4 separate regions of the Homo sapiens genome follow, and regions 1, 3 and 4 are each linked to region 2. The links are contacts of gene promoters, found by promoter capture Hi-C in blood cells and fetal thymus (Javierre and others, 2016). All regions are on one chromosome and are shown on one strand. Each heading gives the region's core, a stretch centred on a gene start or on the middle of the fragment in contact. The rest is flanking DNA. Distances are from core to core; before and after follow the strand shown.

Evidence for each region. Contacts are between HindIII fragments. The CHiCAGO score rates a contact against its expected background, and 5 or more counts as called.
Region 1: a fragment that was not itself captured here is called in contact with the fragment with the promoter of TTC33 in region 2 in 2 of 17 cell types (fetal thymus and total CD4 T cells); the score reaches 5.4 in fetal thymus.
Region 3: a contact is called between a fragment that was not itself captured here and the fragment with the promoter of TTC33 in region 2, in 7 of 17 cell types (activated CD4 T cells, total CD4 T cells, naive B cells and 4 more). The highest score is 9.5, in activated CD4 T cells.
Region 4: a fragment that was not itself captured here is called in contact with the fragment with the promoter of TTC33 in region 2 in 2 of 17 cell types (total B cells and naive B cells); the score reaches 7.7 in total B cells.

Annotation. Positions count from the first base shown.
Region 1 is chr5:39,952,670-39,955,369 of GRCh38, forward strand. No RefSeq gene overlaps it. Among named protein-coding and RNA genes, the nearest start is that of LINC00603, 98 kb to the right of the region's middle. The HindIII fragment of the contact is 479 bases long and covers 1,132-1,610 here.
Region 2 is chr5:40,754,556-40,757,272 of GRCh38, forward strand. TTC33 (tetratricopeptide repeat domain 33) reads right to left here and starts at 1,406. Exons shown (of 5, transcript NM_012382.3): 1 at 1,269-1,406. RefSeq lists an enhancer at 1,280-1,429. The HindIII fragment of the contact is 9,414 bases long and covers 199-2,717 here.
Region 3 is chr5:39,931,774-39,934,473 of GRCh38, forward strand. No RefSeq gene overlaps it. Among named protein-coding and RNA genes, the nearest start is that of LINC00603, 120 kb to the right of the region's middle. The HindIII fragment of the contact is 3,174 bases long and covers 1-2,700 here.
Region 4 is chr5:40,007,290-40,009,989 of GRCh38, forward strand. No RefSeq gene overlaps it. Among named protein-coding and RNA genes, the nearest start is that of LINC00603, 44 kb to the right of the region's middle. The HindIII fragment of the contact is 1,597 bases long and covers 634-2,230 here.

The DNA.
Region 1 (2,700 bases), core at 121-2,620, 800 kb before region 2:
CTGATAGGTAACTACAGAACTCTTTACCCAAAAACAACAGAATATACATTCTTCTTGGTGCCACATGACACTTACTCTAAAATTGATCACATAACTCAAGGTAAATCACTCCTCAGCAAATGCAAAAGAAACAGTCTCTCGGAGCACAGTGCAATCAAATTTGAACTCAAGATTAAGAAACTCACTCAAATCCACACAACTACATGGAAATTGAACAACTTGCAGCTGAATGACTCCTGGGTAAATAATGAAATTAAGGCAGAAATCAAGAAGTTCTTTGAAACCAATGAGAACAAAGATACAATGTACCAGAATGTCTTGGATGGAACTAAAGCAGCCTTAAGAGGGAAATTTACAGCACTCAATGTTCATATTGAAAAGCTATAAAGGTCTCAAATTGACACCCTAACATCACAACTAAAAGAACTAGAGAACCAAGAGCAAACAAACCCTAAAGCTAGCAGAAGACGAGAATTAAGTAAGGTCAGAGTGAAACTGAAGGAGATAGAGACATGAAAGACCCTTCAAAAAATCAAGGAATCCAGGAGCTGGTTTTTTGAAAAAAAAATTTACTAAAATAGATAGACTGCTACCTACACAATAAAAAAGAAAACAGAATAATCAAATAGATACAATAAAAATGATAAAGGGGATATTACCACTGACCTCACAGAAACACAAGTGATCATTAGAGAATATTGTAAACACCTCTATAAAAATAAACTAGAAAGTCTAGCATAAATGGATAAATTCCCTGATGTATATATCCTCCCAAGACTGAACCAGGAAGAAGTTGAATCCCTGAAAAGACCAGTAAGAAGTTCTGAAGATGAGGCAGTAATAAATAACCTACCAACCAAATAAAGTCCAGGGCCAGATGGATTTGCAGCTGAATTCTACCAGAGGTACAAAGAAGAGCTGGTATCATTTCTTTTGAAACTATTCCAAATAATTGTAAAGGAAAGACTCCTCTCTAACTCATTTTATGAGGCCAGCAACATCCTGATACCAAAACCTGGCAGAGATACAAGAAAAAAAGGAAATTTTAGGCCAATATCCTTGATGAACATCAATGCAAAAATTCTCAAAAAAAAAAAATACTGGCAAACTGAATCCAGCAGCATATCAAAAAGCTTGTCCACCACAATCAAGTTCGCTTCATCCCCAGGATGCAAGGTTGGTTCAGCATACACAAATTAATAACATAATTCATTACATCAACAGAACTAAGGACAAAAACCACATGATTGTCTCAGTAGATGCAGAAAAGGCCTTCGATATAATTCAACATTGCTTCATGTTAAAAACTCTCAATAAACTAGGTATTGATGGAACATACCTCAAAATAATAAGAGCCAGTTATGACAGACCCACAGCCAATATGATATTGAATGGGCAAATGCTGGAAGCATTCCCTTGAAAACTGGCACAAGACAAGTATGCCCACTCTCACCGTTCTATTCAACATAGTATTGGTACTTCTGGCTAGGGCAATCAGGTAAGAGAAAGAAATAAAGGATATTCAATTAGGAAGAGAAGAAGTCAAACTGTCTCTGTTTCCAGATGACACATGATCCTATATCTAGAAAACCACATCGTCTCAGCCCAAAAGCTTCTTAAACTGATAAGCAACTTCAGCAAAGTCTCAGGATACAAAATCAATGCACAAAAGTCAGAAGCATTCCTATAGACCAACAATAGACAAACAGAGAACTAAATTATGAATGAACCCTCATTCACAATTGCTACAAAGAGAGTAAAATACCAAGGAATATCGGTAACAAGGGAAGTGAAGGACCTCTTCAAGGAGAACTACAAACCACTGCTCAAGGAAATCAAAGAGGACAGAAACAAATGGAAAACGTTCCATGCTCATGGATAGGAAGAATTAATATCATGAAAATGGCCATACTGCCCAAAGTAATTTATAGATTCAATGCTATTTCTATTAAACTACCATTAATATTCTTCACAAAATTACTTTAAAATTCATATGGAACCAAAAATGGAGCCCGTATAGCCAAGCCAATTTTAAGCAAAAAGAACAAAGCTGGAGGCATCATGCTACTCAACTTCACACTATACTACAAGTTTACAGTAACCAAAACAGCATGGTAGTGGTACAAAAACAGACACATAGACCAATAAAACAGAGAAGAGAGCTCAGAAATAAGACCACATGTCTACAACCATCTGATCTTTGACAAACTTGACAAAAACAAGCAATGGGTAAAAGATTCCCTATTTAATAAACGGTGCTGGAAGAACTTGCTAGCCATATGCAGAAAATTGAAACTGGAACCCTTCCTTACTCCTTATACAAAAATTAACTCAAGATAGATTAAAGACTTAAATGTAAAACCTCAAACTATAAAAACCCTAGAAGAAAGTCTAGGCAATACCATTCAGGACATAGGCATGGGCAAAGACTTCTTGATGAAAATGGCAAAAGCAATTGCAACAAAAGCAAAAATTGACAAATGGGATCTAATTAAACTAAAAAGCTTCTGCCAGCAAAGGAAATGATCATCAGAGTGAACAGACAACCTATGCAATGGGGGAAAAATTTCTGCAATGTGTTTATCTGACAATCTACAAGGAACTTAAAAAATTTACAAGAAAAAAAACAACACCATTAAAAAGTAGCCAAAAGACATGAACGAACACTTTTCAAAAGAAGACATTTATGCAGCCAACAAA
Region 2 (2,717 bases), core at 156-2,655:
CAGTAGTATCAAGGGCCCACTACTGTGTAAAAGCATGAATCTGTTATCAAGGCCATTAGCAAAGTTTTATATTTTCTTCAAAAGTGTCTGGAAACCACAGAGTACAGTCAATTTCATACACGATATGTGCTACAAGAGAGTAAACAAAGGATGCCATGACATCAGAGAAGAGACACTTGAGGCTTTCTGGAGGACTTAAGCTTTGAAGAAAACTTAGCCAGGCTTAAAAAGGTATGTGAATCCTAGAGCATGCAAAGCACTTTCTGCATTAGAAAATTTAACATTCCCAGTTGTTTCAGATATCTTAAGCCGAACGAGTTTATTGTTCCTCTATGACTATCTGAACATGAAATTAAAACTTCTTATGAAGGAGGCTTTCCTGAGTCTAGTTAGAAGCACGAGGCTTCAACATCCTAGACTTAACATTTTTTTACCAGAGTAAGAAACCATGAGAGTAAACCACAATCCACACCGGTTTCATGTTAAACTCATGAAACCAGACAAATTCAACCTTTTATATAGGATTATATTTCAGGAATGGCATAACGATTCTAAACAACGACGCTGTATTCTAAATTCCTGTACTGTTACAAAGATCCCTATAGTAGGCGCTCAACAACTGGCGACGGCTTCACATTTACCCAGCCGCCAGAGAGGGCTTGTCTTGAGTGTGTCTGAGGATGCAGCACCCAAAGGGAAAAACCACTACATGAACAAGATCAGGAAATCACAACAGCATCCTTCTGGGTAAAAGGAGGTATTCAGAGGTGAGGAATCCAAGAAACGATTTACCCAAAAACGCCACCGCAAGAGAAAAACCAGTATTAGTGACTTTCCCTTCATCGGTCAACAATAATAAAAACGCTCAGAAAGGCTGCCCCGGACGTCACCTGCGCGTTCACGGACCGCCCCGGGCCGCAGACACCTCTCCAGCGGGGAGCGGCCGGCTCGTCCCGCCCGTCCCACCGCTCAGGGAAGGTTGCGGCCGCGCAGCTCCGCGAAGGTGCCACGGCGGGCCCGACCCTCAGACTCGCTTGTCCCTGGAGACCAACCCTAGCGACCAGGCTCTGCCGGATCCCGTCGGGTTTCAACTCCTATTCCGAAGGTCCTTTCTCCCCTAATCACAACACCCACTCGCCTCTTTTTCCTCCTCTTCCTCAGCTTCCACCGCCGACCGGGCAGCCCCAGTTACCCGATAACGGCTCCCAAGGCCCCGTGTTTACATTCTTTCCCACTGGAAGCAGAAATTATCACGCCCAAATTCCTACCTGCCTTCCCTGGATTCCTGGTTTCCTAAGAAACGGGTTTGGCCCACCCCTGGGCGTTCGAACAGTCCACAGAAGCGGGCAAAGGAAAGACGACTCAGTCTTTCCCCTCCGCCAATCTCTTCTCCGGGACCACAAATCCCAGAAGTCACCGCGGCCGCCCCCACTGCATGACCTTCTGGGATTTGTAGTAGTCAGGGCCACGCGGCTGGGCGCGCCCTCTAGCAGCAGCCCTGAGTGACCGCAGCGCACGAGCGCGGGAAAATGAGGCTGCGCGGGCTGAAGAGCGCACCGAGAGGAGCCGCCCCCGCGGTACCGCGCAGCCTCGCGTCCCGTCAGTGGGGAACAAGGTGAGGGGAAAACTTATTTTACGGGATTCAAAGGATTAGGATATGCTCCTTCCCCGAAGGGGTTTATAGCCTAGCTGATGAGGTCGGCCAGACGCAGAGAACAGAGAGGCAAAATTCGGTTATAAAGGGCTCGAGGCGGCCGGGCGGGGAGGCTAGTCAGGGAGGCTCGAGGCTGAACTGCAGGCTTCACGTTAAAGTTACAAGTGAGTTGGACCCAGAAGGCAGAATTACAGCCAGAACGTAGCTGTGCATCATGTCTTGAAAATAAACGAGCACATGTAATAAAGGTAATCAAGATTGTTAATTTCTCCAACTCTCCTGCCCAAAAGACTCATTTTTGGAAGTCATACTTTCTCAGCCTCAGCACCATTAACATTTCAAACTGGATAATGCTTTGTTGGGGGACGGGGTGTTCTGTGCATTGTAGGGTGCTTAGCAGCATCTCTGGTCTCTGTCCACGGGATGTCACCACCAGTCGATTGTGACAGCCAATGGTTTCCCCAGTGAAATTTCCCCTGGAAGAAAAACTATCCCTCCCACCCTGCCCCGTTGAGAACCACTGATGTCGACCAACGATTGTCCTGAGGGTCAATGACACCCTTTCAAAGCCAAAATTATTTTCATACTAATATGAAGACGTGATTTGCCCTTTGCACAATGCTGACATTTGCACTGATGGTGGAAAAGCAATGGTAGGTCAAGGTGCTGGCCCCTCCACAGGAATTACAGTAATGACACCAAACCGTACTGGAGCTCTTCACCACCACACGCTCACAGTAAGAAAAATGGGCCGGGCGCGGTGGTTCACGCCTGTAATCTTAGCACTTTGGGAGGTCAGGAGTTCGAGACCAGCCTGGCCAACATGGCGAAACCCCATCTCTACCAAAAATACAAAAATTAGCCAGGCCTGGCGGCACGCACCTGAATCCCAACTACTCGGGAGGCTGGGGTGGGAGGATCCCTTGAGCCTGGGAGGTCGAGGCTGCAGTGAGCCGAGGTCATGCCACTGCATTCCAGCCTGGATGACAGAGCAAGGCACGGTCTCAAAAAAAAAAAAAAAAATGGAAAAATGAACGCTGTCACCAGAGAATATCCCTGATGA
Region 3 (2,700 bases), core at 26-2,525, 820 kb before region 2:
TACCACTGGTGATTGGGCTCTCCTTGCCCCTCTTCAAGTGAGGTATCCAACTCAAGTCACATCTTTAAAGACTGCTTCCTGGGACCGATTCCAGTACTATCTTGGTCAGATTTTCTAGGAACACAGCCTGAGATTCCTGTGTTAAAAATGTATTGATCAAGAATTCTCAGAGAAAAAAAGAATTATCAGAAAAAAGGGTAGTGAGCGAAGCAGAATAAGGTAAAGGAACAGAAAAAACAAAAAAGAAAAACAAAAATAAAAACCCAAGCAGGAAAGTGATCTCAGCTAGAAACTAGCTTTAGCCTGAATCCATGGGGAGCTTTGGAGCACAAATAGCATCATAAAGGTGGTTCCACCATGAGTAAAGGAGCCAGCTTTTTGGATCCCTTCTCTCCATTAGTCAGTTCTCTATCTGTAGCTGCTTGTGGGTGGAGAGTAGGGAGAGGAACTCTAACCTCCTATATAATGTTGGATGTGAGCTGAGATCAACTCACCTGAGAAGGATCAGCTGTGGGTTTTCAGCAACCAATGCTAGCAACTATTATGGGATGGATACATGAGCTCAGTGAAGGAGATCTGGGATTACACATCATTCAAACCAGGATAATTTTAAGAGCAAATGGGACAGCTATTGATAAATACGCCAAAAAAAAACACAGAAAAACAAAAGTGTCCTAAACAAATGAAGGCATAGTCATCCTACCTTCACCACATTACTCCCCTGCTCTATGGAATATAGCTCTAATGAAACCCTAGATTTCTTTGAGGGACTGAAACTCTAGGGAGGAAAAACCCCACATCTGTTCTATAAATCTTCCCCCTTGGAGTTGAAACTTGATGTAAGGGTGGAGATGAGAGGGGAAATTCGAGGAGCTAATTTCCTCAGTTTTATGCCTCCTCATTTCAGTTCTTTGGGACTAGCTGGAGAATTGTTTATCTTAAAAAATAGTTTTAATCTGGGAAATAACATATTTTTTCATCACTTAAATACAAAATGAATTTAAATCCACAGTGCAAAGCTACATTTTGTCAGGTTAATTATTCTAATTATACAACCAGATCAAAAAGAAAAAACAATTATAAATCTTTTAAAAATGGTTTTCGATGTTAAATGTTAAAAATGAAGTAAATTGTGTTCCTTTTACAAAAACTATATTCAAGAAACCAAAGGAGCCAAAAGAGTTGTGAAATGATAAAATATGTTTTAGATTGTAGATGTGAAGGCATTTTTTAGTGTTTCCAATACATAATTTTGGTAAGACACTTCTGGGGAAAATATTTTATTCAAAAACAAAACATAGTAAGAAAAAAATGATTTTTCAAATGCATAAAAAACAGATTTTTACAAAGAAAAAGAAAAAAAAAGTGTCTTTAAAATTGTTTCCTGGAAGTGCTTGTAGAAACTAGGGAAAAACATTTTCTGTTGGAGGCAGCAACTCATATCTTAGCATGTGAGAGTTTAAGGCAGAAGGGTGCATATTTCACAATTAGTCACCACTTTCTCAAGAACTTCATTATCAATTCTCAGTTGATAATTTCACTCAGCTTGAGTGGAATACTACTGGACAACTCCATGAAACCAGCAATGTTTTGTGAGTGAATGACTTGATCGTATCACAAAAACAAGCAGTATTTCTTTTAATTCAGTTGGTATATTTGTGATATTGGAGTGTAGAAATACTATTTAACAGCTTTACTGAGGTTTAAGTGAGAAACAACAAACTGGACTTATAAAACTTTTGACCTATGAATACATCCATGAAAGCATCATCACAATCAAAATAAACATTTATTTTCTTCCAAAATACTTGTTATGCCCCTTTGGAATACATGTCCCTGTTCATTTTGTGCCCAAGCCCCTGTCCCCAAGAAACCCTTGGTCTTTCTGCTATTAAGATTAGTTTCCATTATATGGAATTTTTATATATATGAGATCATACAATAAGCGCTCTTTTTTTTGGTCTGGCTTCTTTCATGCATGCGTCATAAATATTTTGACATTATCATCCAGTTGGATGATATTTTTTACTTTATAAAATAGTGACCACCAAATATAACAAATATTTGGTCATTATAAAAATATATGGTCACTTTATTTTTCATTCATTATATAAATATTTGGTCACTTTTTTATAATGACCAAATACTATTTTTACATTTTATTTTTTTTTTTTACATTATAAAAAAGTGACCAAATATGTTGGAATGGGATGGGAAGAAAATATACTTCCAACATTTTGTCAGTTGATTTTCTAAACTGATTGTACCATTTTACATTACCAAAAACAAATTAGGCAAAAATTTCTTAGCTACAATGCTAACACCATGATCCATAAAACTTTTTAAAATGATAAATTGAATTTCATCAAAATTAAAAACATCTGTTGTTTAAGACATTGCTTATAAAATAAAAAGACAATTCATAGACTTGAAGAAAATATTTGCAAATTATATATCTGACAAAAACTTTTATACTGCATATATAAAGAATGTTCAACCCTCAATAAGAAAAAAACAAATGATCCAATAAATAAAATGGGTGACATAGTTAAACAGATAATTCAAGAAGAAGAAATATAGATGGCAAATATTCATGTGATAAGATGTGCAACATCATTAGTCATTAAGGAAATGAAAATTAAAACCACAATGAGATATGATTACACATCTATTAGAATGGCTTTAATTAAGTAGACTGGC
Region 4 (2,700 bases), core at 182-2,681, 750 kb before region 2:
TATCATATATACATAGCAAATTTGTCCTTTACCTCTATACTATACACTTTGTCCTTTACCTCTATACTAGAATTATAAGTGACTTACACACCGCCATTATAGTAGGAATATTCTGAATTTGACTGTGTACTTACCTTACCAGTGAATTTTATGCCTTCATATAATTTTATGTTACTAATTAGTATCCTTTTATGTCAGCTTGAAGAATTCCTTTTGGTATTTCTTGTAAGTTAGCTATAGTGGTAATGAACTCTCTCAGCTTTTGTTTGTTTGGAAAAGTCTTTATTGTGCCTTTATTTATGAAGGATAGTTTTACTGGATGAAGTATTCTTGGCTGCCAGTTGTTTTCTCTTTCAGCATTTTAATTATATTATCCCACTCTTGTCTGGTCTACAAGGTCTCTGCTGAGAAATTACTGATATCCTTACGGGAGTTCACTTGTATATGATCACCCTCTTTGCTTTTGCTGCTTTCAAACTTCTTTGCCTTTGATGTTTAACAGTTTGATTATAATGTGGCTCAGTGAAGTCTTTTTTGGGTTGAAACGATTTGAAAATGTTTAAGCTCTATGTACATGAATGTCAATATAGCTCTCAAGATTTAGAAAGATTTCAGCTATTATTACTTTCAGTAAGCTTTCTGGACCTCTCTTTCTTTCTCCTCCTTGGTAAAATTCCATAATTCAAAAGTTACCTCTCTTGATGCTGTCCCATAAATTCCATAGGCTTTCTTCATTACTTTTTGGGTTTTCTGTTCTTTTTTATTCTCTGACTAGATATTTTCAAATTACCCATTTTTTAAGTTCACAGATTTTTTTTCTGCTGTTGATTAGTTGTGCTACTGATACTCTCTAATGCATTTTTATTTAATTTCATTGTTTTCTTCAGCTCCTGAATTTCCATTTGGTTCTTTTTCAATTATTTCTATCCCTTTATTGAAATTCTCTTACTGATCATGTTTTGTCTAATATTTTTGAATTGTCTATTTGTTCCCTGGTAGATTGTTGAGCTTCCTTAATAAAATTATTTTGAATCCCTTGCCAGGCAATTTGTAGATCTTCTTTTCTCTGGGGTTGGTACTGTAACATTGTTGTGTTCCTTTGGTGGTATCATGGTTCTTTGGTTTTTGTTTTTTCATTTTTTTGTATCTTTGTGTAAGTGTTTGAATATTTGAAGATGCAGTCACCTTCTCCGGTGTTTATTAAGTGGCTTTGGAAGAAAAATTCCTTCATCAGTTTTCCTAGCTAGGGATTCTGAGGCTCTTCAGACCTTTTCTATATATGTGCTCATTCCACACCTTTTGTTTTCTCCTGGGGGGCATTCTAAAAATTGTATGCCTTTTCTCAATTATTTGAAGCCAAGCTGTGTGGTGATAGCCTTAACCAGTTGTTCTATTTAGAGAAGTTCTCAGAAATGCTCAAGTTTGTGTGCTTTCTCCCAATCCCTCACAGCTGAGTTGTCTGCTTGTGTGAGATACTTGTATTTGTTGTCTACAGCAGTACACTCAGGGAGCTAGCCTGGGGAGAAAGGCTGAGGTGCATAGTGCACTTGAAATGCTTCTGGTCCAGTTTTTGGGAATCCATAGATGAGACATCTCAAGCAGCTTATGAGTGAGCTTTCTAATGGGTTCCATAGACAGTTAGGAGGGTCTATGACCCATCATCCTTGCTTTCAGCCTCTTCCAACCACGTAGCTGTGCCAATCACCTAAATATTCTGGGTGACATGCAAAAAAAAGTCGGCCTCTTGGGCAATGTCCCACATGGCTAGGGGAGCTGAATGAGTTTCTCTTGGTGCTGAGTTGTGCCACCTTGGGAGAATGGTGATGTGAGTAAAGTAAAACTGTTGTTACTCTGTTTAGTGTGTCTGTTGTTAAATTTTTGCTCCAACACTCTGCTGGAAAATTTCTGCTAAAACCCTGAACTCCCACAATGGTACTTTTATCCATGGGTAGTCGTCAAAATTGATGTTTCTCGGTGAAGATGATGATAGAAATTTTCTATTCTGCCATATTTTCTCAAGTTTTCTTTCTTGGGTGACTAAAAAATAAGGGCTTTTGTTTCCTCATCTATAAAGAGAAAATTTGGAATAGATAATAACAACCCAAATCTATAGAATACTTCACTAATTACAGAATATTTTTTATATCCATTATCTTCTTTGATTCTCACAATAACTGCTGAGGGTAGTAAGACAGTTATTGAATTTTCATTGAATAGATGCAGAAAATGAAGCTTAAAGAAAATATACTTAAGATCATATTGATTGGGAACTGGGGAAACCAGGACATGGATCCAAGTCTTCTGACTCTTTATTCAGTGTTTATTTCACTACTACAATGAGCTCCAACTTTGAGATATAAAACATAAATATTTGCAGGTTTCATGCATTTATAGTTTTTAGAAATATGCCATTTTAACATAAAAGTTGATGACTAAAATATCAAATATAAAACTCCCAGGTAATCCTCTTACTTGTCACATTTTATTCACACTTGTAAGAATTACAGTTTGACACGCCTCAATGTAGAAAGGCTTTAGGAAGTCTAAAAAATATTACTTTGCATGAGGGGGTGAAGGAATGGGAAATGATAGAAAGTACTATTTTTATTACAAATATTGCAAATTATATAGTAAAAAATGGAAAGGGAATTTATCAAATGGACATTAATACTTTGACCTCATTCTGTGATACATTTCATA